3 separate regions of the Homo sapiens genome follow, and all the other regions are linked to region 2. Evidence: promoter capture Hi-C in 16 types of primary human blood cells and fetal thymus (Javierre and others, 2016). All regions are on one chromosome and are shown on one strand. Each heading gives the region's core, a stretch centred on a gene start or on the middle of the fragment in contact. The rest is flanking DNA. Distances are from core to core; before and after follow the strand shown. Region 1 overlaps TAPBPL (TAP binding protein like). Region 2 holds the start of PTMS (parathymosin). Region 3 has its middle 9.2 kb from the start of VAMP1.

Evidence for each region. Contacts are between HindIII fragments. The CHiCAGO score rates a contact against its expected background, and 5 or more counts as called.
Region 1: a contact is called between a fragment that was not itself captured here and the fragment with the promoter of PTMS in region 2, in 2 of 17 cell types (activated CD4 T cells and total CD8 T cells). The highest score is 6.7, in activated CD4 T cells.
Region 3: a contact is called between a fragment that was not itself captured here and the fragment with the promoter of PTMS in region 2, in 5 of 17 cell types (naive CD4 T cells, activated CD4 T cells, non-activated CD4 T cells and 2 more). The highest score is 7.2, in naive CD4 T cells.

Annotation. Positions count from the first base shown.
Region 1 is chr12:6,457,687-6,462,213 of GRCh38, reverse strand. It overlaps TAPBPL (TAP binding protein like), which reads right to left. Exons shown (of 7, transcript NM_018009.5): 4 at 4,470-4,527; 5 at 3,267-3,569; 6 at 1,276-1,359; 7 at 1-180. The coding sequence ends at 65. Among named protein-coding and RNA genes, the nearest start is that of TAPBPL, 7.9 kb to the right of the region's middle. The HindIII fragment of the contact is 2,094 bases long and covers 680-2,773 here.
Region 2 is chr12:6,765,113-6,769,428 of GRCh38, reverse strand. It overlaps PTMS (parathymosin), which reads right to left and starts at 3,066. Exons shown (of 5, transcript NM_002824.6): 1 at 2,679-3,066. The coding sequence starts at 2,723. RefSeq lists silencers at 2,262-2,761, 2,872-3,201. The HindIII fragment of the contact is 8,838 bases long and covers 1-3,514 here.
Region 3 is chr12:6,477,605-6,482,135 of GRCh38, reverse strand. It overlaps the pseudogene PKP2P1. Among named protein-coding and RNA genes, the nearest start is that of VAMP1, 9.2 kb to the right of the region's middle. The HindIII fragment of the contact is 162 bases long and covers 1,582-1,743 here.

The DNA of each region.
Region 1 (4,527 bases), core at 477-2,976, 310 kb after region 2:
GGAGTAGCTGTGGGGGCTTGGGGAAGGGTGTCGTTTCTTTCTAGTAGTCTCATGTCGCTTTAGGTCAGCTGGGCTGGCTTACACGCGCTGTGCGGTCTTCATGGAGATGGGAGCTCTGTGTGTCAGCACAGGAAGTGGTCTCCCAGCGTTCAGCCTGAAGCAGCCCAAGTCCTGTAGGTGCTGGTAAGAGGAAGTGAAGACAGGAAGTTGCGTGGGCATCTCACACTGGCAAACAAGCACAGGTTCCCTCAGGCCTCTTCCATCTGCCTCCTGTGCTCCTTCCTAGGTCCTTGGCCTGCTTGTCCTGTCCCAGGGGATGTGCCCAGATAAGGCTGTCAGTGAACACCCCCTTACCCCCTTTTCCCCATCATCCTCACGTACAGTTTTGGTATGCTGAGTTCCACCGTATTGATTAGGCACATTTTAGAAACGAATAAAAAGGAGAAGTCTCTCCTTGCAGCTGAGGGAGTGAGGCATTTGCAGGTATCCTGAACCTCCCAGCAGTCACCCGAGGGAGCAGAACCCTAATTGCAGCTGAGGTGCAACTGAGATGGAGCCACGGGGGTGCCTCTGAGGGCCTTTGTTTCATACTTAAACACTTTGCAAGTTGGAGCCGCTAGGCTTGGTGACAGGGCTCAGTTGGGACCAGTGTGGAGAAAGACAGGAAAGTGGAAAAGCTTGGTCGCAGCAGACACAAGGGCCTTTTATTTTGACAGAGCTGAGTTTGGGAGGGGTAGCCCAGCCCCAACCCATGCCTCATTGTCCCTCACTTGTTCCTTCTCCATTTCCTCCAGCTTTGTTTTCCTACCGTCACACCACCAACCTGGCTCTTTGGTCTTATCCTCCATCTGGACATTCTGCCTTCTTCTTGTCCCCTCACTTCTTCCTGTTCTCTGCCTTGGTGCATGAGCCCAGGGTGCACAGTGAAGGAAGGCAGAGGCCTCTGCAGAGCCAGGCCCAGTGCCCCATGAGCTGGTGCCACCTTCATGTATTTTTAGCTCTGTGACTTGACTTAGAGTCCTTCTGGGAGCACGTGACTACTCTTTCTTTCTACTCTGAGGCAGGAGAGTGACAGACTTTAGTGAGGTAGCTAGGAGAAAACGAGGGAACACGACTGGTTTCATTTTCATTTAGGGCAAACTCAAAAGCAGGAGGCTGTGATGGGTGGGTGGCTGGAGCTTGGGGCATCTGGGCTTCCACCCTGGTCTGGGCGGGGGGGTGGTTAGAGTGGGTGAGGTGGGCCAGGGCCAGAGCCAAGGGCACCCAGGCTCTTACCTTGCCGTCTCTGAAGCCCCAGGAACATCAGTGCAAGAAGGAAGAGACTGCTGGCAAAGATGACTCCCAAGGCTGTTCTCCGCTCTGTAGGTGAGAGCAACGTGGGCGGGGATCATCGTGCGCAGGAATCATGAGCTGAGCCCTCACCTGCAGTGTCCACCCCAGGGAGGAGGAGCTAAGGATTGTGTGTGTGAGTCCCTGGTTGAGGAGCCTGGAACAAGGCACTCAGCAGCATTTGTTCTTATTCAAGGTTGCTGGATACTTGTGAGTTACTCCACACAGAATTCTCTACCTCTTCCCACCTAAGGACAAGGTTTTAAAAATTGCTTTGCAAGTGAGATTTAGGTGGGTTTATTTGTTAGCACTTAACTTGCCTGGACACAGTGGCTCATGCCTGTAATCCCAGAACTTTGGGAGGCTGAGGTAGGTGGATCACCTGAGGTCAGGAGTTCGAGACCAGCCTGGGCAACATGGTGAAACCCTGTCTGTACAAAAAATACAAAAAATTAACTGGGCATGTTGGTGTGCGCCTGTGGTCCCAGGTACTTGGGAGGCTGAGGTGGGAGAATCACTTGAGCCTGGGAGGCAGAGTTTGCAGTGAGCTGAGATCGTGCCACTGCACTCCAGCCTGGGCGACAGAGTGAGACCCTATCTCAAAACAAAACAAAATAAAACAAAGCAAAACAAAAAACCACCAGTTAACTGGGATTTTGTAAATAGTTGGGGAATGATGTGAGCTGAAGTGAAACCTCAGTTTTGGGGAAGTTCACAGTCTAATGAGCAACCAAATAATGCCCAGTGCTCCTGGATGTTTCCACTTCAAGTTGCGGGTTCTTTCCTGTCCCTTTCCTGCTTAAAACCTCTCGACAGGCAGGGTGCGGTGGCTCATATCTGTAATCCCAGCACTTTGGGAAGCCGAGGCGGACAGATCACCTGAGGTCAGGAGTTTGAGACCAGCCTGGCCATCATGGCGAAACCCCATCTCTACTAAAAACGCAAAATTAGCCAGGCGTGGTGGTGCGCGCCTGTAATCCCAGCTACTTGGGAGGCTGAGGCAAGAGGATGGCTTGAACCCAGGATATGGAGGTTGCAGTGAGCTGAGATCATACCACTGCACTCCAGCCTGGGGAACAGAGCAAGATTCTGTATCGAAAAAAAGTAAAATAAAATAAAATAAATAAATAAATAAATAAATAAATAAATAAATAAATAAAACCTTTCAACAGCATGCTATGGCTCTCAGGAAGTTCCAGCTTGAAGGCCCAGTGAGATCTACAGGGTTTAATTAAGCCCGTAAGGGGAATCCGGTTGCCTGTTTTTCACATTCTCTCTTTACCATTGATTGATAGGTGACCTTGGGCAAATTCATTGACATCTGCAAGTGCCAGTTTACTCACCTGTAAAATGGGAGTCATGATCCATGAAATCATACATTTAAGTGCTTTCTACACTGCTTGATTCATGTAAATGCTCAATAAATAGAATTACCTCCGAAGCTTCAGAGCCACTTTCCCTTTTTCCCATATACCCTAAGCTCTAGCTGTGCTGAATTACTTGCAATTCTCCAAATTCTCTTTAGGCTGTTTTATGATTTGGCTTTCATATATGCTATTGTTTCTATCTTGAGTGTTCCCTTCCCTCTAAGCTAGTTAACTTGGCTCAAATGCCATCTTCTCTGTCTACTTAGTCTTGTCTCTATTACTGGACTAAGCTCCTGGAGGGCATGATCAGGAATTATTCATCTGTGATCTCCAGCCTTAAGCACATTGCCTGACACCCTGGAGGCTGGAGTATAATGAAGTCTCAGGGGATGTGTGGTAGAAGCTGTGGCAGCTGCCGCCTTGGGAAAATAGTCAGGAGCAGAGGCAGGAGCATGAAGCCAGGGCTGCGAACAAAGTGGATGGGCAGCAGAACAAGGCCATAGATGAGCTGGGGCAGGAGAGCCATGAGCCCTAGTGTGGAGGTGGGGAAAAGGAGGACACTCCCAGTACCTGGTGGGACAACCTGGGTGCTGGCCCCAAGGGGCTCCTCCAGAGAGATGTGTGTGACCTGGCAGGTGTAAGTGGCACCTGCAGAGCCAGGTTCTGCGGTGAGAGAGGAGGAGATGCTGTAGGTGCCTGCCACGCTTTGCCTGAGGCTGGAGAAGGAGGCACCAGAGACTTGGGCTGGGGATCCACCCAGCTCCTCTCGGGTCCACGTCACCACCACATCCAGAGGGTAATAGCCAGCAATGTCGCAGATGAGGGTGGGCAGCAGAGCTTCGTTTGCCAAGCTCAGTCGTACTTTAGGGGAAGCTGGAGAAAGAATGAGGAATAAGATTACACATGGATCTAACTGGGGACAGCGGAGGAGCCTGAAGCCTTTTCTTCCTGCCAAGATGAGAGTAGATTGTGGAGGCTACAGTGTCCCTTGGTGGTGTACCAAGGCGGGGGTGTGTGAGGGGCCCACCTGGATGCAGGCCGTAAGGGGGCAGGGTTACATTTTCCAGAAAACAGATAGTAAAGCCAACTAAAGATTGGCTGGCTTCTTACTGTCATTCTAAGCCAGTTTTTTTTTTTTTTTTAAGATGGTGTCTTGCTCTGTCGCCCAAGCTGGAGTGCAGTGGCATGATCTTGGCTCACCGCAACCTCCACCTCCGGGGTTCAAGCGATTCTTCTGCCTCAGCCTCCTGAGTAGCTGGGACTACAGGCGCGCACCACCATGCCTAGCTATTTTTTGTATTTTTAGTAGAGACGGAGTTTCACCGTATTGGCCAGGCTGGTCTTGAACTCCTGACCTCGTGATCCGCCTCCCAAAGTGCTGGGATTATAGGTGTGAGCCACCGCGCCCGGCCTCTAAGCCAGAGATTTTAAAGGATAGCAGTGATAATGGTCAGAACCGCTTCCACTGCTCTGCCTTGGTTTGCTGCTGCTGCTCCTCAGGATGTGGTCCAAAAGGACTGGGGTGATGGAGACAGCCAGCCACAGCAGGGCAGCAGGATCCTGGGCTGGAAATCTCTTGGTGGAATTATCCTGGAGTCCAACGGGACTCCTTATCTGATGCCATCTGTGCTTCCATGGTGAAGATGGCATTTAAGTTGTGGGATTGAAGCCTGCTTCTCAGGAAATCATTCTTGCATTTGGGTCCCAATCTGGAAACGCTCCCAGTAGACATGTTATATCCCCTTCCCTGGGATAACCATGTCCTGGCCTCACCTTGGATGTTGAGCTGGATGATCTGCTGAGCTCGGTACAGAGAGGTGGTGATCTGGCA
Region 2 (4,316 bases), core at 1,817-4,316:
GTTGAGACCAAACACCTCCTTCCCCAAGACCCAAGGTGAGGTGGGAAAGGGATGAAGAAGCAGGAGCGGGCAACCAGGGTAATGATCCCCACCCCCATCAAGTTCTCCCAAACCTCACTGGCTGAAGAGTTCAGCTCAGCAAAGCAAATCCTCTCCATCTGCTTGCAGCCTCAGTGCCCCGCCCCCTCCTGTGTCCCTCCGCCTCCCTTGCCTGCCCCGCCACTGCCCGCCCAGCTCTGCCTTTTGTCTACCTCTGGGGCCTTTTCCTGAGGACTCTCTCTCCTGGGCATCCCTCCCAGCTTCCCCTTCAGCTTCTAAGGTCTTTGTTTCTCTCCATCTGTGTCTCCCTAATCCTCAGGCCCCTACTTGGCCAAACACTACACCTTAGCACATTCCCAGCACCCCTCCCACTTTCTGCCCTCCCCGCCCCAAAACAGTTCAAGTAGTTTCCTCTATCCCTGCCTCCCATGGTGTATGCATGGGTGTAGTGGAAGTAGCCATTTACGGTGGAAATGTAGGTGAAGTAGAAGAGAAAACAAGGAGGGGAAGAGTAGCAGGCGTGGGAAACAAGGAGAGAGCAACAAACAAGGTCTGTGACTGGGGTGGGATAGGAATGGAGAAGAGGGAGGGACCAGTCTAGGAGACCCTCCCACCAGCCAGCCCCTCTCCTTCACCCCAAGATCCTAGCAGGCATAGGTTGACGTCCTGTGCTGATATGGCACATCTGAGTCCCTTCTGGACACTACACTAGCCTCCCAATTCAGATTCCAGTGCTCTCCCCACCCACTCCTTGGCAGGCACAGTGTAACACGGTAGGTGTCCTTGTGTGATCTGATCTGGTGTTGGTGTGCCACGCTGTGTATCTGATTCCATGTGAATGGAAGTCTCCTGTGTGAGATCACCCTGGGCGGGGGGGTCCTTTCTGGAACAGGATAGGGGATAGGAGAGGAGCCTGGTGCAGAACGGCTGCCCTGGGGGGCACTCAATTCCCTTCTCCCTTTAAGGGTAGCTCAGAACTCTTCACTCTCACTCCAGAGAGGGTGCCCTTCCACCCCACCGTGAGGTCTTCATTTCTGTGCCACAAGGTCAGTATGGCATTTCCACTACCTAGGGGGCTCTTCCCTACGTCCTGGGCCAGGAGAGCAAAGAGCTGGTCAGCTTCTCTCTGGGGGCCCCAGCACCAAAAGTCTGTATGGCCCTGGCCTGACTTTCCCATCTGGGCTGATGCAGGGAGGGAGAATACCAGAGACCAAAGTTCAAGGGGCCGGGCCCTCTCCTCCCCTGTTCTGTCCTTCTGGTCACTGTCCTTCCATGATCCCTTTTCCAGGAGAATATGTGACCTGGGCCCTAGGTCTTCTGCTAAGCAGCCCTCTGGCCTCATTTACTCAACACAGGCACACACACCGACACCGGCCGACAGCCATGCACAGACACAGTTAGAGAGGAGCACCCACGCGATGGGAGACACATGGCCCAGCGTTGGGCCATTCTGGTCCACACTCTTGAGACAGCACGGGAGCACAGCGGAGCCACTCAGCACTCACAAAGCGACAACATGGCTCCAGAACATCTACGTCTCCACATGCACACATGTAACTGACACGGGCAGTCCCACACACTCGCTGGATTTCAGACATACAAAGACACCTACTCAGTGAAGTCACATGCCACCGCACAGCCCGCCGGAGGGCCACACGGGCGCACCTTGGCAGATCGCACACAGCCCCTCTCCCACCGCCGTTAATCCCATTGGCTCCCCCCGTTTCACTCCGCGGGCCTCCGGGAGACCTGTGTGACGGCCCCTCAGCAACCACCGCGCCCCCCCCCCCCGCCATACACATACACACACAAGATAGGGCTCCCAGCCCCCAAACCCCGGCCGCGTTAATTTCCCAAAGCGACACTCCGCAGGTTCCCTGGGGAAATTAGAGGAAGGCTGGAAGAGAGGCAAGGGCGAACGGATGGGGCCGGGGAAGGGAGCTGATGAGGGCGAGGACAGCTCGACGCAATGCCATGCAATGCCCAGCCTCGGCTTTTTCGAAGGCTAGTCCTGCCCCGCTTCTAATTTTTAGGAATTCGAGATTCTTTCAGTGTGTATGCGGGAAGGGGACGATGAAGAGAAAAGAAAGCTGAAAGCCAGCTGAGGGGAGGGAACGAGAAAACAGAGGCGGCCGCCGTCCGGGGAGAGAAGCGAGCGACGGTCGGGCCGCGGGGAGGGGCCCGGAGGAGCAGCCTCCAGGGAGAGTCCTGTTTACACTTGAGGATCTCAAACCGCTTAGCGAGGAAAGGTGAGGTCAGGTTGCAAGCAAAGACGCGGCAGCGGGGCGCAGGGAGGGGGCGCGGCAAAGTGAGACTCGGGGCGTTCGGACGGGAAGCCGGACGGGATCCGGTCAGCGAGGTGGGGCCGAAGAGGGGTGGGGACGGCTGCGGGGGACGGCGCGACCGGAGCGGCGAGGCCGGGCGCCGTGGTGCGCGCAGGGCAGCTAGAGGGCGCTGGCGCTAGCCGCGCGGAGCCGGGAAAGGAGCTCCGGGCCGGGGAGCGGTGGGAGGGCGCAGTGGGGTCCGCCAGGACCCGGGCGCAAGGGCCGCGCGGGGCCGTCGGGGGCGGCCTGGGGCGAAGGACCGCGCCGGGCCCCAGGGCTGCGCGAGGTCCGGGCCGCCGCCGCCCCCGCCCGTACCTTGGCGCTCAACTCGGCCGCTGCCTCCACGCTTTTCTCCGACATGGTGCCGGGGCCGGGGCCGGGGCTGGCGGGGAGCCGGGGTCCCGGGGCCGAGACGGAGGGGCCCTGGACGGCGGAGGGTGGCCGCGGCCGGAACCTGGCGCGGTGGCGGCGGCGGCGGCGACAGCGGCAGCGGCGGCCGCTCGGCAAGCTGGGTCTCTGGAAGAGGCGGCAGAGGCGCGCGGGGTGGGGCGGGGGTGGGTCTGGAGCGGAGACCCGCAGGGCTGCGGCCGTCCGGAGGGCGGGCGGAAGGGCGGTGCAGGCGGTGGCCGGCGCGCTCGGCCGCGGTAGCTCGATCCCGGGCTCGCCGCCCCCGCACCAGCAGAGCTGCCGCCGACCAGCCGCTGCCGCCCCCGGGAAGGGAACCCGCTTATAAGGCGGCGCTGCCCGACGGGAGGGGCTTCCCAGGGGTGGGGCAGGCGGGAGCGGGGAGGAGAGGAGAGGGGAGGGGGATGAAAGAGGAGGTTGGAGAGGTGGGGATAGGAGGATGAAAGCGAGGGGAGGGAGAGCTAGGGAGTCGGGAGGGAGGACGAGACCAGGAGGGGGAAATGGAGAGACTGACGGCCGCGGAGAAAGAGTGGGGCGAGGAGGTGGGAAGGGGTGGGGTTCCTGCGGGGAGGCACCTTTCCAAATCCCAACCTACTGCCTGCGAATGTGGAGTCTGGCTTTTGGGGGCGGACTGGAGAGGTGGCCAGAATCCTACTGACCCCAAAAAAAGCCCTGGGATTTTGCCAAGGGGTGGGGTGAGGGGAGCAGATGGGAAGATAGGGCAGGTATTTGAGAAACCAAAAGCTTAAAGAAGAGGAAGAGGGTTCGGGCGCTCCTTCCACACCACGCCGGATTTCCCCCTCTCATCCTCCATCCACATTCTCTGGATGGCCTTGAGGAGGGATGGGAGGGCAGAAAGGGCGGCCCAGCCTTCTGTCCCGCCAGATTGACACTTGTGACCCTTGCCGGGTGCCTCCCTTCCTGGCCCCGTGCTGTGAGCCGGGGGGAGTCAGGCCCCCTGGTCTCCTTTGCTGTCTTCCAGCTCTCTTCCATCTTCTACCTCTCTTATTCGCCCGTCTCACCTCACTTTTATTCGCCTGGTCCTTCTATTTCTCTTCATCCGTCCTCAGTCATCTGTACCTAGACCCCTCCTTCACAACCAATTATAACTCGAATCGCTCCCATTCTTCTCTCACCTCTTCTCCACTCCTCACTGACTCTCTTCTGCCCTTCCACCTCTGGTCTCTTTCCCTATCTTTCCCAGACAACCCTGCTCTTGTCTTATCTGAGTCAGGCACCTGGCCCTCTATTCTTGGCTGGCTTTCCTCAACTCCTCTTTCTGTCCTCATTTTTTACATTTTCCATCCTTCAGCTTTTCTCATTCCTCTGCTGCCATCTTCCCTAGCCTTTCTGGGTTATATTTGCCTCCTTTGCAAATATAATACAGGTCCAGGTCTGGAGTTCCAGCCCCACCCTATTCCACACATCCTCAGCTCCTCGCCCTCAATCTCGGTATCTTTGAGTCATTTTGAAAAGCTTGGGATTTCAGAAGGGAACAGGGGCTGGGTTGTGTATTAAAGGTCAGGAAGGTGGACAGAGTGGAAGGCT
Region 3 (4,531 bases), core at 413-2,912, 290 kb after region 2:
CACAAAAAGTTCTTGAACATACATTTATTATCTGGAGGAATGAATGCACTCCAAATGCTTATTATCAGAACTCTGGAAAAAGACATATAAATTCTCTCCAGTATTTTAAAAATTGGTATCTAAATTTCATTTTGAACTAGGTTAGTTACCTAAGCTATCTTCATTCAGCTTTTAAAACTGAAAAAAAATTTAAGTTTCAAATATAATAAAGACTTAAGTACATATTCAACATTTATTTTCTATTACACTTTTCTGGCCAAAAGGAGTTGAAGAGTTTTTTTCCTTATCTTACTTATGACAAACGTTGTCAGATTTAAAAAAAAAAAAACAAAATATAACAGAATAGTAGTTGTGAAGACTAACTCTATATGAATGGTTTTAATCATAATGCAGTTAAAATAACATTTAATATAGATTCATTTCACTGGATGATGTCACCTTTTAAAACACCAGTATTTCTCATATCATTTCTGTATGGTCTTGACACATTCTTATATCTTCTTCAACATGACTTCTTCACTTTTTTCTCTAGAGTTTTCTTGAATTAAAATAATGGCTTGAAGAAGATCATATGAGATTTAGTGGCCCTGTGATATTTCTTAAATGCTGGGCAAAGCTGGTTGATAATGTAACTCATTAAAATGAGCTGTATTTTCAGTGCCCCAGGCTGGCCGGGCAGTCTGATAGAAGGCCTTAGTTCCTCTTGCAGATAAAGACTAGAGTCCATTCTTCCACTAGTCCAGGGCAGTGGCCTAAAAAATACAGAAGGCCCGGTGCGGTGGCTCACACCTATAATCCCAGCACTTTGGGAGGCTGAGCCGGGCGGATCATGAGGTCAGGAGTTCAAGACCAGCCTGACCAACATGGTGAAACCCTGTCTCTACTAAAAATACAAAAAAATTAGCCAGGCGTGGTGGTGCACGCCTGTAATCCCAGCTACTCAGGAGGCTGAGGCAGGAGAATCACTTGAACCAGGGAGGCGGAGGTTGCAGTGAGCCAAGATTGCACCACTGCACTCCAGCCTGAGCTCCGTCTAAAAAAAAAAAAAAAAAAAAATGTCCAGGAAAGGCATTACACGGAATGCCATTGTTTAGAAGAGATTTGGATTTAATGGTGTTGTTATAGGTAAAGTATTTCCGGAGCAAAAATCTCATTCATTCAGTGTTTGGGGGAAGGTTAAACTTTATAATCACAGTTGCCTTTCTCTGGGGAAAAGATTTATTTTTATTTTTATTTATTTTACTTTAAGTTTTGGGAGAAAAAGGTTTCTTTAATTTGCTATGATCACTTCCTCTCAATTTCTTTTTCTTACAGTCATGCATACTCTGTAATCTAAATTTCTTAAGTTTATTTAAAAATCAGAGGAAAAAAACCTAAGGAGATAAAAACGAGCACAAAGTAAACAAAGAAACAAATAATTTTGCCATTATACTTTCTCCTGGATAACTGCAGATATTTCTTGTCATTTCCATTCTGTTTCAACACTACAGAACAATATACTCATGGCCCAATGGTGAAGCAATGTGCACATGAGTGACAAAACATGGGAACTAGAAAAGGAATATAAATGTAAATCAAGCTTTTAAAATCCCAGTAATGCAACAACTTCTTTCCTTATTTATTGGATCAAAGTCCATTCCACATGAATTCACATTTTGGTTCCAGGAGGCCATGCACCATAAGCCCTAATAACAAAGACCACTATTTGTAGAGCCTGTGACCAGTATCTACTGGTGGCAAGCTTGCAAAAGTCTTCTGGAAGACTCATAAGATTATGTTGTACTTGTTTTCTGGATTCGGGGGACCATGGAAATAGAAAATGATAGAAACGAGGCATGCTTTTGAGGTTTCTTGGGCTGGGTAGTAGAAAAATAGGTGTTTTCCTGTGGGATTTTTTTGCAGCTGAGAATACTTCGTCATTTTCCTCAGTCTTTAAGGGAGTGGTAGGCTTTGACAGTCCAGCTGTTGACAAAATCTGTCTTCTTAAACTGAGCCTTCTTGTAGGCATGATGGAGTTCCGTGTGTGCCTACAGAGAATACAGGAGGATGGAAGCAGCTTTACTTGCTTTGTTGGAGGCATAGGCATCGCCTGCACTGATGGTCATAATTTTCTGGATGCCCCCGGTATTCGGAAGGCGCTGTGCATTCTGGTAACTGTTTTGGATTACGTTGTTCAACATGTAACAGGCAGAGGCTGTAGTTTCAATGAGAAGGTCAGTACTCGGGACTGTATCAGGAATGATGGAGACCAAACTGGGGAGAGTTTCTTTGGCAATTTTATTCTGCAGAGAAAGATTCTGGGACAGATTCCTCAGCAGCAAGTTGGCTGTCTTTTTCACACTTGGGTCACTGACATGCACCATCTTTCGGGTGTGCTGCAGGCCATTTTCCTTCTGGACGACTGTCTGAGCCACTGATGTCGGCATTGGTCCACTTCCGGCTGTGAGGTTCTGGAGAGCGCCTAAGGAGGCTTCCTGTGTGTAGTTTGGGACACTCTTGGCGATCAAGGACAGATACATCCTTATCACAATGGAGTGTCACAGCCACTCCACGCCCTTGGGGTTGCTCTTTTCCTCTGGCATCGGCATGTCCTAGTATTGCTCTTTTAGTTTCCTGCTTCGACTGCCAAAACATCCAATACTTTTGTTGTTAGTCTGGACATTTGGGTTTTGAATATAGATATTCTGGGAATATTTCTCTGGGAGCTCTACCTCCAGCTGGTAGGAGAGGTTATGAAGAATGTGCACACAATTCTCCGTGGCCTTGTCATCTGGCTGGTAATCCGCAATGGTTCCTCTGACATAATGGACCAGTGAGTCAATGAGTCGGTCACATCTTCTCATTGCTTTTCTCCTATCAGGGCCAGCAGCACTCATGTTTCTTAGACATCCAGTGGGTTGTAGACTGTGTCAAAATCGAGCAAACCATTCGCTTTTGGGTAGTCTCCTTCAGGCCATCCAGAAAAGGAGATGATTATATTCTCGGTCAGCATAAGCAATGCTTCTGTTATCATGAGATTCTTGAGTTTGTCATTAGATGACAAATTCCACAGCAAACCTGTTAGTTGTTTTTTAGTCTCCAAGACTCTGGTTTGCTTCAGCACCTGGAGCAGCCGAGTTACCCCATTTAGTTCAGCCACCTCCAATTTGTTGTCATTGTCTTCAAATAGTAAGTTTCTCAAGGCCCCCCACACAGCTCGCTGAACATCTTCATTCTGAACTTTTAGGAGCTGCAGAAGCTTGGGGATGCCACAAAACTGGTTAACCCTCTTCCCAGCTTCAGATTTCTGGAAGCACTCGTGCTGTATGAAAGTGGCTGCGGCAGAAATCCTGGACGGCGGCATCTGGTCTGCATCGAGCATACTCCCTGCTCGCTCCAGAGTCATCTCCATGTCTGCATTCCCCAGCTGGGAGTCAGTGCTTCTCTGGGTGAGAAGATTCCCACTTCCCCCTGCCGCTGCCTGGCCGACGGTCAAGTGCGCTCTCCTCCCGCTGGAATCCACGGCAACACTGGGCCCAGCTTTCCTCGGTGTGCGGGTGCTGTGGAAGGAGCTCCGGTGCCAGGAGGACCTGGAAGCCCTGTTCTGAGTGAGGGGCCGCAGGGGCACCAGCGGCCTGACCTGGCCGACGGTGAGCCCTGCCCTCAGGTAGTTCTCTTTCTCCAAGAGGTTGCCCATGCTGCGGCTGGTCCCTGGCCTGGGGTACGTGAGCAGGGCCGGGTTGGCAGGGATGCTGTCAAAAACGGTGTCACTAACAGAGCCACGCTGGTACTGCCTGTGGTGTCAAAGTGGTGCTGCCTGCTTGTGGTGCCAGTACGGCGGACCCCCGCGATCTCAGAACGATCATATCTCGGTGGCACCAGGAAGGCGGCCCGCCTGCTTTCTTGGTGGTGCAGGGTGTGCCCAGCCTGGCTTCTCTGGCTGTACTGGTAATCGCTGTGCGTGTAGTGAGCCCTCTCCGGGCTGCTGTCAGGAGAAATCTCCAGTCTCCTCAGAGGATGCCTCAAATACCTTTCTTCCACGGACTTCTGGGAGCTGTACTGTGCTGTTCCTCTTCCCCAGCGACCTTCATAAGTGGCAGTTGTGCCAGCCTTTAGCATGTAATAGGTTTTAGGAACAGGGGAACGGCCTCCAACAAAATCATTTTCAACCAAGTGTAGGTTGTAGACATACTCAGGAACACTGCTGGTTCGGTGAAGATTTCCGTTGCCCACGGAGCTGCGGCCCTTCCGGGCGAGGATCTGCTGCACCTGCTCCTGGATCCGCAGGCTCTTGACTGGCTGCCGCGGCCGCTGCTCCCAGCCAGCTTCAGCTTGGCCTCAGAGGGCAGCGCCAGGCTGGAGCTGTCCAGTTGTCCCAGGATCTGCTGGCCCAAGATGGTCCGGATGTAGCCGTACTCAGCTGGGGCCCCGGGGGCTGCCATGGGGCCGGTGGGGGCGACCCAGCCGCTCGCTTGCCTTGGGACTCGCGGGTGAAGCCGCCGCAGAGCTGGGGGCTCTCCAGATAGGAATCTTAAAAAATACAGAAGGCCAG